3 separate regions of the Homo sapiens genome follow, and all the other regions are linked to region 3. Evidence: promoter capture Hi-C in 16 types of primary human blood cells and fetal thymus (Javierre and others, 2016). All regions are on one chromosome and are shown on one strand. Each heading gives the region's core, a stretch centred on a gene start or on the middle of the fragment in contact. The rest is flanking DNA. Distances are from core to core; before and after follow the strand shown.

The links. The method cuts DNA at HindIII sites, captures the fragments that hold promoters and counts their contacts. A CHiCAGO score of 5 or more calls a contact.
Region 1: a fragment that was not itself captured here is called in contact with the fragment with the promoter of JAZF1-AS1 in region 3 in 2 of 17 cell types (activated CD4 T cells and fetal thymus); the score reaches 7.7 in activated CD4 T cells.
Region 2: a contact is called between a fragment that was not itself captured here and the fragment with the promoter of JAZF1-AS1 in region 3, in 1 of 17 cell types (activated CD4 T cells). The highest score is 5.4, in activated CD4 T cells.

Annotation. Positions count from the first base shown.
Region 1 is chr7:25,858,231-25,861,231 of GRCh38, forward strand. No RefSeq gene overlaps it. Among named protein-coding and RNA genes, the nearest start is that of LINC03007, 70 kb to the left of the region's middle. The HindIII fragment of the contact is 9,868 bases long and covers 1-3,001 here.
Region 2 is chr7:25,938,769-25,941,956 of GRCh38, forward strand. It overlaps LOC105375199 (a long non-coding RNA gene), which reads right to left. Exons shown (of 7, transcript XR_927114.3): 7 at 494-693. It overlaps LOC105375200 (a long non-coding RNA gene), which reads left to right and starts at 2,764. Exons shown (of 4, transcript XR_001745151.2): 1 at 2,764-2,803. The HindIII fragment of the contact is 856 bases long and covers 1,169-2,024 here.
Region 3 is chr7:28,179,149-28,182,210 of GRCh38, forward strand. It overlaps JAZF1-AS1 (JAZF1 antisense RNA 1), which reads left to right and starts at 1,309. Exons shown (of 4, transcript NR_034097.1): 1 at 1,309-1,391. JAZF1 (JAZF zinc finger 1) reads right to left here and starts at 1,647. Exons shown (of 5, transcript NM_175061.4): 1 at 1,315-1,647. The coding sequence starts at 1,429. RefSeq lists enhancers at 1-367, 368-867 and a silencer at 722-841. The HindIII fragment of the contact is 6,606 bases long and covers 1-2,108 here.

The DNA of each region.
Region 1 (3,001 bases), core at 32-2,531, 2.3 Mb before region 3:
ATCGCACTTTCAAACGTAAAACGCAATTCCAAGAAGACTGGGATGTAGGGAGTATGCGATGCCTCTGTTCAATAGGTCACTGTCAGGAACTTCAGTTTCTGGTGTTCAGATATTTGTATTTGAAATTAAGAAAATCAACGCAGGAGGGGTTGCTGGAGGATAAAGTGGGGTGACGAGAGACCGAAGGAGGGGGAGGAGGAGAGGGGTAGAAGGAACCAAGAACCATCTGATGGCAGAACTGGGCTGAAGGAAAACAAAACCGTGAACTTCAAAGCTCAGGCCTAATCTCCCTCAGGTTAATTTCTGCTTCCTAAAAAGTTTGATCAGGGTCATAAATCACTCGGTCCACCCTTGCCGGTCCTGCCTGGTTCCCCAAGGTTCTCTCCCCGCAGCCCGCTGCAGGGGCGCAGGGTGAGTCTCCAGCCCAAGACCGTCTGAGGCTTCCCGGGGCAGGAGGGCTCCCGGGGCTGAGTGGGCGCACGGATGCGCGAGAATCCGCGTGCGGGGGAAGCGGGGAGGCGAGGGTCTAGGGAAGGTGCTGGCAGTGTTGCGGGCCAGACTGTGGAGAGATCCCGTGCAGATGCAGTTTCCATTCCGTCCGGCCTCAAAAAAAAAAAAAAAACCTTCAAGTGTGTCTGGCGTGCTGTTTGAAGAAGGTTACAGCGTGTTTAGAGATTTGCAAAGCTCTGCCGAGCAGTAAAGATTAGAAAGGCCTGCCTGAGATTTGTCAAATGACTTCCGGTAGCAGAGCCCCCAGTAAACAGGGAGGGCCCGGCAGCCTCAGATCTTGGCTCGGTCGGGGCCTGTAACTCCAGGCTGCACGGCGCGGAATTGGTACGGCCGCACCAGGCGCGCTGCGAGGAGGATGGGCCTGGCCGGGGACCCGTGGAGGATCCGCCTCCAGTCCCGAGGAGGTCCCCGTTTTGTGGCTGTAGTGATGTGGCGTAAAAGTCAAGTCGTGGACTTTTCTATTGGCCTTTCCGTGCAGGAAGCCCTAGATGTAGACCAAGCACTAATTTGGTGAATTTGTAGACCAACTTGACTGAAAGGCTCGGGGAAATGTCACCTAGATGAGTCTGACCCTCCCTAAATGAAAGCCATCTTGGAGGAGGCCAGGGAGTGAAATGGCTGGGGAAGGCCCGGCAGGTCTTCATCATAAGAGTCCACGTTTCTCAGCAGTAACGATAATATTTTAAAACAAAGCAAAACAACATTGTCAAAAAATCTAGGAGACAGTGATCACTGCGGTCAGGGGCGCTTAGTGGGCCGCAGCTCATAGGAATGCTGGGGTTTCCCAGATTCTTCCCAGACGGGCATCGCTTTCCTCTAGGAATGACAGTTTCCGCCTTGGCTCGCCTCAGAGGTGCGCATCAGAGCCAGCTCAGGAAGCCACTACCTGTCACAAAACCGACCACACCATTCTGGTTTACACGGAGCATATAGCTTGGGGTTACCCAGCTAAAATAAATAACTGAAGGGAAATTGTTGGTCAAGAAAAACAAAAGGAAAAATATATAATAAAAGGGGTATCTATTGTTGGACGTGAGACGGGTCCCTCTACACACGGGAAGACGAGGCAGAGGAGATGTTGTTAATGCCCCTGGGTATTAGATACAAAGAAGCACAAAAAAAGAAAAAGAGAAAGGAAAAGAAAAAGGAAGGAAGGAAGGAAAGAAGGAAGGAAGGGAGGAAGGAAGGGAGGAAGGAAGGTAGGTCAAGCCTTCTAGAATTTGTTACCCTAGATGAATAATTACTTAGACTCACACACGCAGATGTTTTTTCTGTGAGAAAGAGATTAATATGGTCTGTCCGTAATGTGACATACACACACAGGGGTTGTATTTCCATGTTTTAAAACACAAAACAACTAAAGTTGATCAGTGAGGGACATGTTTTTAACGGTTTAAATGTTTTATGATGGACCAGTAAAAGCAGAGTTAAATTTCAAGACATAATTGACTGGAGATTTGATTATTTCCCCCCATTTCTGAGGGGGAAATAATCCCTTTCCCAAAATAAAGTTATACCATTGATAAAAATAGCGCAGAGGACCGTGAGAGTTAAATAAAGCAGAAAAAAAAAAGACTATGTGTTGCATTGAGGCAAAAATAACGAAATTCAAAGGCAAATTAAAATAAAGCAATGAGGATTTATCTGAGGAACCGCCACGGGCAGAGGAGCAACATCTGTCCCAGATGTCAGACTTCCCTGCAACTTGATCCATGCGTTTCCACTTTGGTTTCTGAACCGAAGGAGGAGTGCCGGCAAGGGAGCGCCCGCAGTCCTGCGGTACAGGGCTGGCGCAGCCTCTGAGTGCGTGTGTGAACTCTGCCAGGAAGCTGTGAGAGCCAGCCCAGGATTCAGTGACCCTGTTTCCCAACCCACAAGGACAAGTACATGGTTTTCTCTCTTATCAATTCCAGCCCCGCGCAACCAAGTGAAAGCAAATGCACTGGACCGCTTCGGAATTAAAATGAATTGCTAAAACCACGGACCGCTCTGTCCGGGGCCCAGACCTGTCTCAACTCGTGGTATTTACATTCCTAGAGCCCGTGCGGAGGAACACGTCGAGGCACGGGTGGCCGCAGCACCCGGCCTCCAGGCCTAGAGTGAAAAATTTTTTAAGATCTGGTTCTCTCCCCGCCGCCTCTGTGGAGGGACTTGGGGGCATTCATCAGTCTGCAATGTTTATTCATTGTTGTAGTACCGAGCTTTCCAAACGAATAGGAAACTTTTACATCCCTTCCTTACACAGATATTTATTATCTGTAGGAATATTTAAGGGGCTGTACTGGGCCGTTCACCTTTGACAGGGGCCGTCACCTCACACTCCAGTGTAATGGACCACACTGCGGCTGCATTTAATTTATTGGGGTGAGAAGTTGCTGCGGGAGGTTTCCAAAGGGGGTCTTTGTCACGAAGAGAGAGGCTCTGGTCCAACCCCGTAGGTGCTTAGAAGATTATATTTTGGCCTCGGAATAACACAACCGAACACAACTCA
Region 2 (3,188 bases), core at 347-2,846, 2.2 Mb before region 3:
GTTTTGATAATTACTAAACATAACCAGGAAAATTTTTCGGAAATGTATTTCTTCATCAGGTTAATGGGAAAATTTTAGGGCCTTAATTGAAAGAAGCAGCATGGATAATATCTTTTTTGCTTCTTGCCCATCTCTTCCTGATAAAATGGAAGCCCCATGAGGACAGAAATGTTTTACTGTTATGTTCACTGCAGTAACTCATCATCCAGAACTGTGCCTGGTATATATTAGGTATTTAATAAATATGTATTATGAAATGAAATTGTCCCTTTGCTATCATAAAGGTTTCTACACCCAGGCAATATACTTTAGTAAGATTTGGGATGGGGGAGGGTGGTGCCTTTCCTTTGTAGAGTAGCAAAAGGATGATAGAAAGGAAGAGATGTAGGAGAGGGTAAATAACTCCCAGCCCAGAGGTTCTTATGCAAGTCTGTTTTAGGAACTCGACGATAGGAAAGTTGAGGACACATAACCCAACACTTCGATGCCCAAGTGCCCCTTACAAAGTCTTTATATACCCCCCTGGGTGGGTGTGCCCCAGTCTGAAGACCTCTGGACTTTATAACAGTAATCAAAGGTGCCATGCTATTGTTTTTAAAAAGAGAAGGTGTGTCAGCATCAGGAAGAATCAGGAGAACAGCTTCTTTCTATTGTAATCATTCCAAGCTGGAAGCTTCCCAAACCAGGATCAACCTAAAAAGAAATGATGGAAGATAAATGTAGGCTTTAATTCAATCCCACAAGAGAAAAACTTGGAAAGCAGGTATATGGAAGGACATAGTTATCTCAACTTCACATTAAACATTAGAGGAGCCAACATTAGTGAAATGAAATTGAAATTATGTTAACTCTCATAGTCAAGATACACACAGGCACACACACACAGATTAGAACCCACAAACTCATTCACTCATTCAGTGATTTACGGAATGGCCACCATATGCCATGCACAGTGCTGGGTGTTGGGCTATAGCAACAAATTATGCACAAATGGACCTGCCCTCATGGAGACTAGAATTGAAGCCAATGTGACCAATGTTCTAGGCATTGTACGACAATTTAGTTTCAACAAATTCTGTTTCAGAAACAGAAAAACAAACCTAATGATTTAGCTTGGGGAGGAAGAAAAGATATGAGCGAATCAAGGAAGAAAAGATATGAGAGAATAAGCTTCCTATTCTTTCCTGTTTTTCCTGGTGAAGTACAGTTTTTCAAGGTAAATTATCCATAATCCATTATAAAATGTCTAAAATCGTTTGAAATCCACTACTTCAAAGCTAAAAAGAAAAACTGAATTCAATTTTCCGTTTTCACGGGGTACAGATAAATCCTGATCCATCAACTGTTAACATCAAATGACTTAACAGCCCAGGCTGGTCTTGCTTAATCACTTAACCATCCTCTTCCTTTTGTCTAATCCCCAGATACATCTCAACACCCTAACAAACCAGTTCTCTGACGGCCTTTCAAAAGCTGCATTGGTTGCCTTTCCTCTTCTCTAACACACACACTCTCTCACAGCTTAGGAAGACTGAAAAATCTGAAGGCGTATTTTCTATAGCACTTCAGCTCATGGTAATAACTTCAATATAAATGTTGACTCATAGGAAAACAGTAGCCAACTGAAAGTGCAGCTTAAGAAATGAAGCACACAGCAAGACCTAATCCGCAGATACCAGTTCTGTCTCTATGCTGCAGCAGGGGGTCAGCCTCATTCATCACTGAGGAGACGGAGCATATCTTTTTGACAGCATGCAGCAGAGTTGGGAAAACAATTCTAATGGAGCCCTAATTAAGGGTGCCATTTCTACCAATGAAGATGAACCCAGGTCCAGCCCAAGACGTATCTGAAGGACACAAATCCCCTCCCAAATGTATTAAGTGAAAACAGCACCTCCATCCTCTTCTCATGAGCCTCTTTAATAATGTCTCCAGTTATCCACGCACCTCCCACCTCCAGGCAAGGCGTATGTGCAACTGAACCTTCAAGTAGAGACATAAGATGATTTTTAACTTTGATTAGAAGCTTTTCAAGATAATCTCTTCCTGTTTTGTCCTCTGGCAAGAGCTCCCCTTCCTTCATTTGGTCACAGAGTGGTTTTCTTTTAAAAGAACTATTCAGCTTTTGGAAAACCGACAAGAAGAAACTGAGAGAATTCACACACCACAGAAAACTGGGTACACAGCTGCTACTAAACTTCATTGTCCTTTTATCTCCAGCCTCTCCACCAACAGAAAGACACAGAAGGAAAGAGAAAGAGAGACAGAGAATGAATCTGAAGTCTGAAACCTTGTAGTTCGTTTGAACCAGTCAGTTCTTGTTCAGAAAGGAAGAGGAAGGGCAGGAGTGGCTATTGGCGCCAGAGGGAGGGTTAGTGACTCAGTCCTACCCTCCTAACAGATTAAACACCAAGGAACACAAGCCTTGGAACCAGACCTGGCTCTGACCCTCTGCCCCGCCCCTTGTAGTGTGACAGGGAAGCTCCAGTTCCCTTATCATACCTCAATTTTATCCATAAAGTGGCGACATGAGGAAAATGCCCAGCATTTAGTAAGTGCTCAATCAATATTGGTGGAAAGGTTCCTAATAACAATTATAATAGTACTAGGTAACTTTAATGATGATTTACCAGGTGTGAGGCACTAACAATTTTTTTTTTTTTTTTTTTTTTTTTTTGAGACAGAGTTTCACTCTTATTGCCCAGGCTGGAGTGCAATGGCACAATCTCGGCTCACCACAACCTCCGTCTCCCGGGTTCAAGTGATTCTCCTGCTCCAGGCTCTCAAGTAGCTGAGATTACAGGTGCGTCACCACACCCAGCTAATTTCGTATTTTTAGTAGAGATGGGGTTTCTCCATGTTGGTCAGGCTGATCTCGAACACCCGACCTCAAGTGATCTGCCGGCCTTGGACTCCCAAAATGCTGGGATTACAGGCGTCAGCCACCGCGCCTGGCCAGCACTAACAATTTTAATCTGTTCAACAATTCTGTGAGCTGCATACTATCATTATTCTTGTTTTAATGAGTAGAAAGCTAAGAAACAAAGGTTAAATATCTTGCCTAAAGCCACCTCGCTACCAAGAGACTAAGCCTATGCTTGGCCTCGAGCAGCCAGGCTTAGAGCAGGACAGTCCAATGGACCTTTCTGCAATGATGGAAAATGTTCTATAATCTGTGATTTCTGGCA
Region 3 (3,062 bases), core at 59-2,558:
GGCAATTTACAGGTTCTCTGGATTAGACAGCCCCATTGGGACATCGCTCGGACCCTTCACCTTCTAGCCCACGCAGGACAACTCGCTGGCGTCGGTCACACCTTCCGCAGGTGGTTGGACCGCCTAAGCCAGATGCACCCGGCCCACCTCCCTTAGCAGGGGTTCCGAATAGAAGTGTGAAAATGTGTGCAATGACTTCTGCAAATCAGAGGACTTGTTGAAAGGTCCAGGGGTCCAGGCGTGAAGGGAAAGCAGCCACCCTGCGGGGCGCCCCCTCCCCGGCGTCTCCCGGGCCCGGGGCGCTGCGCAGGCCGCCGCCGATCCCAGGGCGCAGCCAGCGCACCTCGGGCCTAGCACCATTAGAAAGGCAAATCGCAGAGCCGGGGTGCATTTAAATGCCCGGCCATGGGCCCTGGGGGTGTCTCTCCAGCGGGCGCCGCCGCAGGGGCCTCCAGGGCGCGTCGACCCCGGGGCGCTGGGCGCGGCCCGCGGGCGCACCCAAGACCTCAGCCCGCAGCGCCCGGGCGTCCGCGCCAGGCCGGGGCAGGGGAGGGCACCCAGAGCCCCCGGGCCCGCGTCCCCGGCCCCGCCCGGGCCCCTCGGCCGCCTCCCAGGGAGAGGGCAAGCTCCCCGGCCCCCGCCCGCGGCCGCCGGCCCCGGCCCCCTCCCGACGCACCACACCTAGCAACCGGCGCTGACAGGACGCAGTGGCGGCGGCGGCGGCGGGAGGAGGAAGCGGAATGGCTGCCGCGGTGGAGCCACCCCCGCCCCCCCGCTCCACCTCCCCGCGGCTGCAGCCGCCGCCGAGCCCTGACAGCTCGAGCCGGGGCGGAAGCGCCCGGCGGCGTGCAGCGCCCGCCCCCCGCTGCCCTCAGCGCCTCGGGCTACTCCGACCACCCGGGCCAACTAACTCCGCGACCCTGCCCAGCGCCCAGCTCCCGCCGCCCGCCGCGCCCTCCGCCCCGCGCCCCGCGCGCCGGCACTCGGCCCCGCCGCCGCAACCCCGCCGCCCCGCCGCGGCGCTCCCCGCTCCCACCACTTCGCAGCCCGCGTGCACGCCCCTGAGTCCCCCAGCCGCCCGCCCGCCCGCCCGCGGCACCTCGGGGCGCCCGCCCCCTCCCCCACCCGAGCCCGCTCCCCGCCCCCCGGCACCTCGCGCCCCCGCATCCCGCCACCCCCACCTCGGGGCTCGCACGCGCCCTCCCCGCCCTGCCGCCTCCCTCCCCGCCGGCCACCCCTGGCCATTCCGGGGCTCCCCGCCCGGGCAGGAGTTTCCGCGCGCCTGGCACCCCCGCCCACCCCCGGGCCATTTACCGATGTGGTTGTCCTCGATGTGCTCGATGAGGTCGGCCAGGGTGGGGAAGTGGAGTCCGCAGCCCCCGAATCGGCAGGTATTGGAGAAGAAGGAGGCGGCGGCGATGCCTGTCATGGTGCTACATCGAGAGCCCCCCTGGTGTCGGCTCTGCGAGCGCCGGGCGGGCGAGGGAGGGAGGGAGGCCGGGTGGGGTGAGGAGAGGAGGGGCTGGGGGAGGGGGAGAGAGGCGGGGTGAGGGGAGCGGCGAGGACGGGACGGAGGGAGAGGGGGCGAGAGAGATGGAAGGAGAGCGAGGAGCCACCGGGAGGCAGAGGGGAGGCGGCGGCTGCGGCGGCGGCGTCGGGAGCGGCGGGGGGAGGGCGGGGGCGGGGGCGGGGGGGGAAGGCCGCCGCAGCTGGGAGGAGGGACCAGGGCGCGCGGCTACAGCTGTGCGGCCCCAACCTCAGCGCGCGGACCCAGGCCTCACCTGCGAGCCCTGCCACCAACTTTATCTCGCTAGGCCTGCCCTTTACGGCTTGCCATCCGTGCCATCTGTTTGGAGCCTCCTTGGTTATGTATATGACGTTCTTAATACACCCACATCGATTAATTACACCTACCTCCCTGCGAGGAGAACTCAGGGAGTTACCCTGGTCCCTCTCAGGGACATTTTTTTGTACTCAGCCACCTGTCTAGGTGTGACACATTCACAGGGGACCCAGGAAAGGTAATTGTGTGCACCTTCTTCTTTAAACCTTCTTTAGAAAAAGTACACATTCTCCGGAGGTTTGTACTAACTAATTGATTTTAATGAAGCTTTCCCTCTAGGCCAGAAAAAAATCTTAGCTTTATTTAAATTTCAAAATAGAGTGCTTGGTTGTCAAGTGCATTTGCCTGTGTTTTACATATGTGCCACGTTTTTTATACTCCCTGCTCCTTCTAGGAAAACAAAAACTAAAATAATTTCATCACCCGAAATTACAGCACCCTACTGCACCCACTCCACCATCTCAGGTCTGGTAATTAACCCATCCTCGTTTCAGCCACTGCAGAAAGGACAGTGCATTGGTTAAGGCTAGAAGGAGCGGAAACAACGGCAAGGGACATAGTGACTCTTCATTTAAAAAGGAAGCGATTTCATCCTGTGAGCATTTAAAGCATAATGTTGACCAGGTAACCACTTAAGGTGAATTTAGTAGCTTCCCTGAAAACCAGCATTTTGCTGAGAATCAATTACTTTCTTGTCCCCACCCCCTCCTCCAGTTGCAGTCATATTTCTTCTGTAAAGTGTGTATTTTCCAGTAGCACTTTTCCAGGTGTCTAAGAAATATTACACATTATCAGCAGTTTATGACCCAACAGTACATTTTTTTTATTAATATTAATATATGCATACTGAATTTAGCATTTTTCCTTAGGGCAAATTTCACTTACCCTCTGGTGCAGATGCATGGAGAAATAGTATTCCTCCCTCCATAAACTCTATGCATCTCTGTCTAGTGTTATTTCTAATAATGGGATTGTTTGCTTTTCATGTAAGTGCTTAGAGTAAAGGCACATGTAATATGTCTGTTGCTACAGGAAGTTTTATGATCTGACCATCACCGGTGGCATTTTCTCTTCTCATCTCTTCTGTCTTGCAGCTCACAAGGTGACAAACTTGCTGAGATGAGATTCGGCTTGGGTGGGGCTGGGGCAGCTGTGTCTTGAAGTTCAGTTTGGTGCCAAGAATGGTTTCATGGGCCCAATGAGGGTGGGGGCAGGGCCC